Linked DNA regions of Homo sapiens: all the other regions are linked to region 3. Evidence: promoter capture Hi-C in human tissues and cell types (Jung and others, 2019). All regions are on one chromosome and are shown on one strand. Each heading gives the region's core, a stretch centred on a gene start or on the middle of the fragment in contact. The rest is flanking DNA. Distances are from core to core; before and after follow the strand shown.

Region 1 (3,321 bases), core at 656-3,155, 1.6 Mb before region 3:
TGTGCTTGGCACAGTAAACACACACACCCCCACCACCCCACAGTATTACAGAATCTAACAATGGTGAGAAGCATAATATTGTCAACTGTATAAAATACAAAAGTAAAGTCAAGTAAATAATTTTTTAAAAGATCATCAAATAACACTTTAAAAAGGATTGTGATTAGCTGTTTAAACCATGCAATCCTGGGAAAGCAGGCTTTTCCTGAAGTTCTGAGTACAATACTATTAAAGAAAATGCAAAGAGTTCATGCTAAGCACTCAGTCCTTCGTTTTACTCTCCTTGTCCTAAATATTTTTACCTAATGAATTAGAATCCAGAAGATTGGATCCATTAACTTTCCAGAGGGCTTCCTGGAGAAGTGCCTCTCCCCTCAGCAGTATCCTGTGAGGATAATTGTGTCAATATACACATTTTAATCTACATCCTTTGATTCTCTAAATTTATCTAACTAGCCTGGAATATTATTTGCGAGGAGCTACCTGTACCACCCACCATACATAACTACATTCTAAATCATAAAAAATAGAGATTAACTTTCATAATCTAACCAATGCTTAGATGTCAAAGTTAATTATTCTTTATAAATCAGTAAGGTCTCTAGTCTGTTCCTATTAAGTACACCTGTATTCAGAGAAGCATAGCACTGTTGTTTCTTTGGGAAATGGCAATGTCCAGTTTAGTAATTGCCTGATATATGTGTGTTCCGTGTAAAAATATGTTTATTATAATTTTTTATCCAAAAGTGTCATGATAATCAAACTTGGAAAATACACATATAATTTATTATCTGGTTTTAAAAGAAAGCAAACAAATAACAAGTAGTTCTAATTCTAGAAGAACTGAATAGCTTATAAATGATGCATATGCCAAATATTTCTTCATTCATTTATGCCTGTATTTGTTCAAGAATGTCTTGATGGATAATCAACAACATTCAGGAATATTTCATTGAACATATTTCGTGGCTCCTATTACTTTAATAAATGAATGAGTCATTAATTATTTATTTGAAGAATAGTTTGTTGAACATTTTTATAAGACATTTATTTTGTGAGCCATTTTTGTACAATTTACATTTCCAAAATGAATCAGGCAAAAATCTGCCTTCAGAAATTAATTGCAATGATAAGAGATGCTCACAAATAACATTAATAATAGTCAAATACCTTTAATAATAGTCAAAATAACAAGCATTTCTATTATCATATCTCTGTTTTATTTGCTTGTTTTCTGATGTAATTAATTCTCTGAACTCTAAGTCAGAGGACTTACCCTGGTTCCAGCTTCCTCAGAGTTAAAACATTACTGAAGAGACAATTTCTGCCTGTATATTTAATTCTGACAGTTTCTAAGAGCTATCCTGTAACATCCAGAGGATACTTTAGTTGTTATTATTTAGCTTCTTAGAGGAGTAATCAATGAATTAACCCTCCTAGACCTATTTTGTTTCTGTGCAAAAACAGTAGAAAATGGACTTTTCCTTGCTCTTATGATCAAGTCCCTAGTATATAGCTCCAATATCTCGATTCCCGCTTTATTTTTAAGTGCTTGATTCCTTTTCTCCTTATCTTTTTATATTTTATGCAATCCTCTAACTATGGGTAAATCAAACTATCTGTGATTTCTATTCCCACCTTTAAACAGCTGACCCTTTTTCAAGGAAATCACTCAGCCTTCCAATTTGTGCCACCGCTAATCAATGAGGCATGGCGTTTGGGGGAAGGTCATGCTAGAGCTCAACAGTTTTGTTTTATGTCCTGCCTCGATAACTGCCATTTTCCCTATCACTGATGACAACCCAGACCTCTCCTCCTCAAAGGACCTAACCATCTACCCCTCTTCCTCTTAGCCAGCGATCTTCCCTTGTGTTAGAAATGCTCCAAACCCCTCCCCATTATTGAGGATGAACAATCTCAAAGAGAATATAAAAACTATAATTAAGGAAACTCTCCTAAAATCTGCCTCCCCCCCCACATACATGCTTTGGCTTCTCCACTTATTCTGAACTCTGTTCATCTTGGTACAATGTGTTCTTACTTCTCTACCAAGTTAATCTGTTTTCGTGTTTCTTTTCCTTCTGTCTCCTCTGCAACCGTACTCCATCAATTTCCTCTGCTTCCTCCTGTGCCACACCTCTGTAAGTATCTCTCATCCTTAAATCAAACTCTCTTAAATTTATGTTCCTTTTAGCCACATCTCTGACCAATTCCTACGTAATCTTGCAACTCTCAAAGTAGGGACATCTTCCCTGGAAGTGTCATCCAATCTCTTCTCTCTGCTGTCTCTAGAATGCCTTCTCTCCTCCCCACCAATTTTCCAATACTACATAGTCTGGACCTGTTACATTGAAATGATCAGTTTATGTAGCTGTAGCCTCAAAAAGACCATGATCTATCAGAGGAGACTCTGTCGTGTTCATTATTGTGTCATGTTTCAGCCCGGGGCACTGTATGTAAGAGGGAGCTAGTTTAATGATCATTGAATTGAAGGACACAACTCCATGTGATTTTTTTTTCTTTTTTTAGATGGAGTTTCGCTCTTGTTGCCCAGGCTGGAGTTCAGTGGTGTGATCTCGGCTCATTGCAACCTCAGCCTCCAGGGTTCAAGGGATTCTCCTGCCTCAGCCTCCCAAGTAGCTGGGATTACAGGCATGAGCCACCGTGCTGGGCCTCCATGTGGGTTTGAAATTGTCTCAAATGCCCATGCTAATACAAAACAAAACTTGTTCTCCTCTGCGTTGGTCCCTCTTAGCAACATTATGTCCAACATGGAGGGAAATGTTTATCAAGGGAAGCAGACATAACAACAGGAGATAGTAATCAAATTTTAATTAATTAAGGGGAAAAGTGAAGAAAATGAGAAAAAATGATGCAAAGCCACATATCTGAGAAATGCAGAGGTCACAATCGAGAATTATTTTGTAAGACGAAATGTTGGAGAGACAAGAACTTAATCAAATGAAGACAGTTAATCAGATAGAACCAGTCAAATACCAAGTTGATTGACAATTGGAGTATGTTTGGGGTCCAGTTAAATGAATGACTGAATGTGAAAGGAAACCTTAAGATGGAAATGCTTGTGCTAGATGGGTTATCTCCTTATTTTTGTGTGCGTGAGTGCTGCTACCATTTACCTAGTTCCCCCAATGAGAAGGTCATGCAATATGAATTCTCCATTTTTCCACGTGCCTTCTTATATCCAATCAATTATCACATCCTATGAACTCTATCTCACTTGTCAATATAATATTCTTCTCTAGCCCACTCTGCTGCTTGAGGTCAGACACGTGTCTTATCATGCCTACACAATAAACTCTC
Region 2 (3,815 bases), core at 745-3,244, 1.5 Mb before region 3:
AAACAAACAAACAAAAAACCCCAAAACAGGAATTCCAGATACCTAATAACTTGCAGACAAATGTATAGACTCTTTCTAAATAGAAATCACCCAATTTAATAACTTTAGATGAAGAATTTTATTTATTTATTTATTTGTTTGTTTGTTTGTTTATTTATTTATTTATTTATTTTAAGATGGAGTCTTGCTCTGTTGCCCAGGCTGGAGTGCAGTGGTGTGATCTCGGCTCACTGCAACCTCCACCTCTGGGGTTCAAGTGATTCTCCTGCCTCAGCCTCCCTATAGCTGGGATTACAGTCACCCGCCACCACACCCGGTAATTTTTATATTTTTAGTAGAGATGGAGTTTCTCCATGTTAGTCAGGCTGGTCTTGAACTCTACCTCACGTGATCCACCCGTCTCAGCCTCTCAAAGTGCTGGGATTACAGGCGTGAGTCACTGCGCCTTGCTAGATGAACAAATTTTAGATTCTATATTTTAAACATATAAGCAATATTTTTGTTTTCAGTGTAACGGGGATATTACCTAATATGGAAGAGGAGCAAAGAAACACAGTAAGCCTCATGGAGCGGCAAAGAAATCTAGTTTAATAAAAAGTTCAATGTAAGAAAAGCACGGAGTAAGTTGCTTGTGCACTATTTGTGTGGTATTTTCCTCCAATCATTCTTTCTTATTATTTGCCTTAACACACACTATTAAAGCGTCCTGTATAACCACTTCCTAACTTTATATCTACAAGAATCTAATTTATTGTCATAGTTAAGTACTGCAGTATTAGAATTTATCTTACTGTACAGGATAACAAGCTTAAGATTATACCAATGTTTCTCCTGTATTGACATCATATAGGGCAGCCATCACATCTTCAAAACTACTTAATTTTTAGTGAATGTATCCCCACGCACATCTCTCCTAACACGTTGATTTTACTATTAAGATAGATTGTTCTAGATTAATTAATCTTTTCCATAAGTAGAAATTTTAATAATGCTATCATGTCCTAGGTGACTAAGAATACTTGATCTTGGGTGTATGAAAAAGCACCCAAGAACACCATATTGCCTATTTTCAAAGCTAAATCATGATAACAGAGTTAGTATGAGGAATCCTCTTACCTTGTTTTGGTAATGGACTCTCTTCCTTTGAAATGGTAACACTGCATTTGTGAATACTGTATTGCACTTGAAAAAAGCTGCTTTGTATTATAGTTATTTCTATTCCACATTTCCATATCTTACCAGAAACCCCCTACTGAAAACTTCCTTGAAGTAATAATTTTGATTTTAGCCTCCCATCTCTCAGTTTCTAGTATAATATCTTCTTTAAATATATTCATGCATTCAACAATTGTTCAGTGAGTGCTTACTGTAAGCTGTGCCTTCTGCTAAGCTAAGGGGATATAGCTAAGAACAAAACAGATGTAATCCTTTCCTTACATTACATATGATTAACACTGAGAAAGAAGCATGTAGTGACTTAAGCACTCAGAGTCTGTCCTCAGGCCTGAGTTCAATTCCTGCTTCAACTCCTACAAGTTAGTTTGTCATGCAACTTATTCCTCAGCTTTAGTTTATTCATCTGTAAAAAGATGGATAACTCTCACCCCAGAGATTTGTTGCAAATGCCAAACTGGATTACTTAAGTAAGATTTTAAATACAGTGCTGGGATATATGGAGTTTATAATAAGTGGAAGCTATATATTATTTAATATTTGTTAGCATCTTTTAAAAAATAATGCTATTGATAAACAGTTGTAACAACATGTTTAAGCAGAGATGATACATGGTCATTGGTTAAAATATTTATGGCTTATAATTTGTCTTATTAATGAAAACTCTTCTGCATATCTACTTATTGATTATGGTAAGAGAAAATTTCATAGGATTTTCCGAGAAACACTTCAAAATTTAATTTTGTACTTTGTGAATTTTGCTATGTTTATGCTTAAAAGTTCTCTTACTGCTCCAGGATTAGAAACATCACCACTTATTTTTTCATATTTTCTACAAAAATTTTTATTTGGTAAATTTTATTCCTTATGTTACCTTAAATTTACATTAAGTTAAAGTGTAAGATAAGGATCCAATTTAAGAATTATTTTCCAAAAGGCCAATTAATCCAAAATTATTTAGCAATATTACATCTGTTTATGTAATGTTTGTAAGATATTCATGATCATATAGCAAATTTTATATCTACTAGACATTAGAATTATATTGTTACTTATATTATGATATCCGTATGCTATTAGTATATAGACAAACAACTTATTTCTTTCATTGTGAACATCCCTGCTTTTTGGTCTTTTTTTATTTTTAATTTTTTTTTTTACTCTAAAAAGTCCCAATGACCTTTCAAGGTAGCTCTTAGCATGTTAAACAAATATATTTTAAAACTATAACAGGAAGTACCACAGTAATTTCAGATTCACATATCTCATTCATTAATTTTAAAATACTATCCATCTCTTAGCCTGCTGATGGACATCTTCTAAGTAAAAGTTTCAAAGCAAGTATCCATGGGCAGTTTATGTTCTAAATTCTGCATATCTGAGCAGGGAGGTCAGTGTTATACCAGCACATAAATTAGGTTGTACTCGGTTAAAATATCCTTAGATGACATATTTTTCTCTCAAAACTTTATCTCATTATGACATCATATTCTGGCACTCTGAGTTAAGTAGAATTGGAAACAGTGTAAATTTTTTACGTTTTGCCCATGTGGTTGTCAATTTTTTTCTTTAAAACTTGAAATTCAACAATTTTGCCAGTTTTATTCTAAGTTACTTTGTTTTTAATTTTGCGTGGCACTTAGTGAACACTTTTGACCCGTATATTCAAGTAATGTCTTTTGTTGCCGTTATGTTTTCTTGTTTGTTTTTAACTATGCAAAGTATTCTCCTCTAAATAATGATTAGCTTCAATTGCTTTGATTTATTCCCAGTGGAAGCTAATGATTTATATATTTTGACTTTTTGTTTTCTCTCCTCTATAGCATCTCTTATTATTGTTATTATATATTTTCTTGGTGTTTTTAGAGAACTGTCTACTTTATTAGTGATTTCATTTTCTACAATGTCAATTATGTTGCTCGCTACAGCCGAAGCCAATTTTAATTTTTCCACTGTGATATCTTCTGTCTCGCATTCTTTTATGTTTGTGCTGGCAGTGTTTATAGTTCAACACTCTTCTTTTTCTTTTATTTTCTCATTTATACTTATTTTACATATTTATGATAAATAGTTTTTTCTTACATGAAAAACTGCAGTCATTCGCTCAACTTTGATGTTTAAAAAATCATTGAAAAACGTAAAAATCTCACACTGTTAATGTTTGCAAAGGGCATTATTCCCTTGGACAGATATTACTGTCTGTCTTGGTGTTCTCAGAATCTCACAAACATTTGGGCTGCACCCCAGCCCCAACCCTGGCCCCGCTGCTGATATGTAGCTTTTTGAGACACATTCCATCATCAAGTAAACATTTAAACAGCTCAATTCCACAAAAATTAGGCAGAAATTACCCTGCTGCTGTTGTCCAGCATTTTTTTTTTTTTTTTTTTGAGACGGAGTCTTGCCCTGTTGCCCAGGCTGGAGTGCAATAGTGCGATCTCAGCTCACTGCAACATCTGCCTCCCAGGTTCAAACGATTCTCCTGCCTCAGCCTCCCGAGTAGTATTACAGGCACCTGCCACCACGCCCAGCTAATTTTTGTATTTTTAGTAGAGACGGGGGTTTCACCATGTTGCCAGGTTGGTCTCGAACTTCTGACCTCGTGATTGGTCTGCCTCACCCTCCCAAAGTGCTGGATTACA
Region 3 (3,425 bases), core at 109-2,608:
GCTGGTTACGTCTCAGAGGTGTCCAAATGGAGGGTAACAACACCTTCGCATTTGTTGGACATGGGAATTCATTTTTGAGTTTGCCAGCAGGTGGTAAGACAGAGATCAAAACAACCCAGTGATTAGGTGGGTGTCTGGGGAAGTATCTGGGTAGACCCTGGAGGCATTTGCAGTGTCTGACTGGACAGACATGAACCATACATCTCCCCAAGTTAAAAATGTAGGTATTTTCTAAAAGGAAATGCCAGTTAGAAATGACTGAAAAAGCACAAACACATTTGGATGTCTTGGCTTCAATTTGAGATTTCTAACACACTCTGGTGGCTTTTAAGTGTTGGAAAATATGATAGTTTCAAAGCAGACAGAGTGATATTTTCCCTTTGTAAATATGCCGTCATATTCTCTGGCATTTTTATAGGTAATCCACTCTGCAAGTATTATAAGCCTTTGCATTTGCTGGGATGTTCCCATAACATGCTTCGCTTTTCTGGCATAAAAATAGCTCTTGTATGACTTTCAGAAACAGACTTTCAGTCCAAGACTTTCCTTACATTGGAGATGGCTAAGGGACAAAAGTGGAGACCTGTACTCCATGGGAATTATTCTTGTACTTTTCCACCCTGCCTGCTATCTTCCGCTTTAATAGGAATACTTAAAGTGCTCTTATTACAAATATCACTGTTCACTTAGATATGAAAAACAGTGTGCTTTGATAATGACTTTTCTTATACTCTTAGTAAAAGAGTGATAATATTTCTTCATCATCATAACAGCTAGTAATTATTAAGCACTTACTAGTCCAGGCGCTCTGCTAGAAGAGTTTACACTGTGTCATTTAATTCTCAAAGCAAACCATTGGGTTAGGTCTATTCTTACCCCCAATTTTTTAGGTGAGGAGTGAGCAGCTCTGCTCCATAAATGCTACGCTCTGATGCCTGCCCATTGATCTTGACTTAATTTTCATGCAAAACCTGTTAATGCTTTAAAAGGTAAATATACATTCCAGTAATTATAACAGTAAACACTTGCACTCAGATGAATTTTATCTTAAGTTTCCATTACACACAGAATAAGGCCATTGAATAGCGATTCCAATAGATGATTTACTGAGCTCATGAACAAGCCAACAGCAAGGAGTGATCTGTAAGTACTTACTTCAGAAAGTCCATTTATGGGGATTTCGAAGCCTGATACTTCAGAAAGAAAGAAGCAGATGAAAAAGCACGTGAGTCTTTTCATTTTGCTGGACAGTTTTGCCAAGCTCCCCAAAGCAGATGGTCTGGGGAGGATATCACTTCTTCCTACTGAACCAAGTTCAAAGGAACAGCAGAGGAGTACAGTTCGCTTTAAGAAAGAAGAAAAAAGAAGAAAAAACTCTCTAACTTTGTTCAAAATTGGGACAAATATTTGTTCTGGAGCTCAAACTTGAGCTGTGTGGGTGGATCGAACACCCAGAGGTTATTCAAACAGCAAAGTCAGAAGCAGTTGCTTACTGTGAGGACAAGTCAGGGGCAGATGGATGTGCTTGAATGTGCTTGTGTGCTTTTATTTTATTTTTATTTTTTATTTTTTGGCTTTTGCTGATTTCTATTGATCTTAAAATCAGAGAGACCTACAGATAATTGTCATCCTTTCTAAAGGACCAAGTGCAGAACTATTCCAAGAAACAAAATCCTTTGATCTAAATGAAAGCAGGAAAAATTTAGAAAAAGTGGGAGAAGACACAGAAGGGTTTTTCTGAGCAAAGAATTCATTGTGCATGTTTTCCCCTATCTCTTTGATGACTGTCTACCTGTTACCTATAAAGACCCAGGCAAGTGGCTGTGCAGGATACTAGGGCAGATCTTCAGTGAGAATGCTTCGTGAATGTCTTTGATTAAGGTAACAGTGTCTGTCCTGCTGCCCCTATCAGCCGGGCTCAGGTCAGTGGCAAATCAATACTCCCCAGTCTCAGAATTGGAGTGCAGTGGTGAGATCAAAGCTCATTGCAGCCTCAACTTCCCCCGGCTCAAGCAATCTGCCCACCTCAGCCTCCAGAGTAGCTGGACTACAGGTGTGCACTACACTGCCTGGCTATTTTTTGTAGAGATGGGATTTCATCATGTTGCTCATCCTGGTCTTGAACACCTGGGCTCAAGCTATCTGCTTGCCTCAGCCTCCGAAACTGCTGGGATTCCAGATGTGAGCCCCCATGCCTAGCCTCCATCCTGGTCAGATTCTATTTTTCTTGCAACAAACAGGAAATGTAACTTCTTGGATGCAACACTGAAATAGGAAGCTCCAGCTGTGGGCAGAATTACAATACAAGGGAGGTTGTCTTATCCTCAGGACCAAGCACCCCAGGCCAACTTCTGGGATCCTGGAGCTCCTTGCTACATTTAAAGCCCAATTCACAGGGCATGCAACAGAGAGTTTTCTGCATTTTCCTCCCTAGTTTCCCCTCAGTCTTCGAAATTGCACAGCCGTGTGTCTGCTGGAGAAACATAACTTCTGAAATAATGGAAGGGAGAAAACAGATTCTCCCCTCCCTTGCCTAGGTTGGACTAGTTGAGCGCCCACCTTGGCCAGTGAGTGCCTCAGTGGACCCCTCATGGAAAAATCCTGCCACAGCTTTGCATTCTTGACTGAGATACTGTTTCTGGAGAATTAAGACCCAATGGCAGCTGGGCGCGGTGGCTCACACTTGTAATCCCAGCACTTTGGGAGACTGAGGCGGGTGGATGACCTGAGGTCAGGAGTTTGAGACCAGCCTGGCCAACATAGTGCAACCCCGTCTCTACTAAAAATACAAAAATTAGCCAGGTGTGGTGGCATGCGCCTGTAATCCCAGCTACTTGGGAGGCTGAGGCATGAGAATTGCTTGAACTGGGGAGGCGGAGGTTAGAGTGAGCTGAGATCACGCCACTGCATTCCACCTGGGCAACAGGGCAAGACTTGGTCTCAAAAGAAAAAAATAAATAAATAATAAAAAACCCAATGGCATGTTCTCCCAAAAACAGCAGTGACTTTCAAAATCATACCTCCTTCCATTGATCATTTCCTTTCTGATTATTTTAATCTGATATTCAGAATTATCTCAGAATAAACCAAACCAAAAGCAGGCTGGACTTTTTTCCATGCTGATACTCTGTCTTCAGATCCCAAAGTCCTTTTTTTTTTTTTTTTTTGAGAGGGAGCGTCACTCTGTGGCTCAGACTCAAGCGCAATGGCATGATCTTGGCTTACTGCAACCTCCACCTCCCAGGTTCACGCGATTCCCCTGCCTGAACCTCCCAAGTAGCTGGAATTACGGGCGTGCACCACCACAACTAACTTTGTATTATTTTTTTTAAAGTAAAGATGGGGTTTCACCATATTGGTCAGGCTGGTCTCAAACTCCTGACCTCGAGTAATCCACCTGCCTCAGCCTCCCAAAGTGTTGGGAT

The links. The method cuts DNA at HindIII sites, captures the fragments that hold promoters and counts their contacts. A contact is called where the count stands out against the background at its distance.
Region 1: a contact is called between a fragment that was not itself captured here and the fragment with the promoter of ITIH2 in region 3, in 2 of the 25 tissues and cell types used here (dorsolateral prefrontal cortex and lymphoblastoid cells).
Region 2: a contact is called between a fragment that was not itself captured here and the fragment with the promoter of ITIH2 in region 3, in 2 of the 25 tissues and cell types used here (lymphoblastoid cells and mesenchymal stem cells).

What each region holds. Positions count from the first base shown.
Region 1 is chr10:9,255,612-9,258,932 of GRCh38, reverse strand. All of the region lies in intron 4 of LOC101928272 (a long non-coding RNA gene), which reads left to right. Among named protein-coding and RNA genes, the nearest start is that of LINC00709, 18 kb to the left of the region's middle. The HindIII fragment of the contact is 8,100 bases long and covers 1-3,321 here.
Region 2 is chr10:9,201,485-9,205,299 of GRCh38, reverse strand. All of the region lies in intron 4 of LOC101928272 (a long non-coding RNA gene), which reads left to right. Among named protein-coding and RNA genes, the nearest start is that of LINC00709, 72 kb to the left of the region's middle. The HindIII fragment of the contact is 6,922 bases long and covers 1-3,815 here.
Region 3 is chr10:7,701,249-7,704,673 of GRCh38, reverse strand. It overlaps ITIH2 (inter-alpha-trypsin inhibitor heavy chain 2), which reads right to left and starts at 1,358. Exons shown (of 21, transcript NM_002216.3): 1 at 1,156-1,358. The coding sequence starts at 1,239. The HindIII fragment of the contact is 26,123 bases long and covers 1-3,425 here.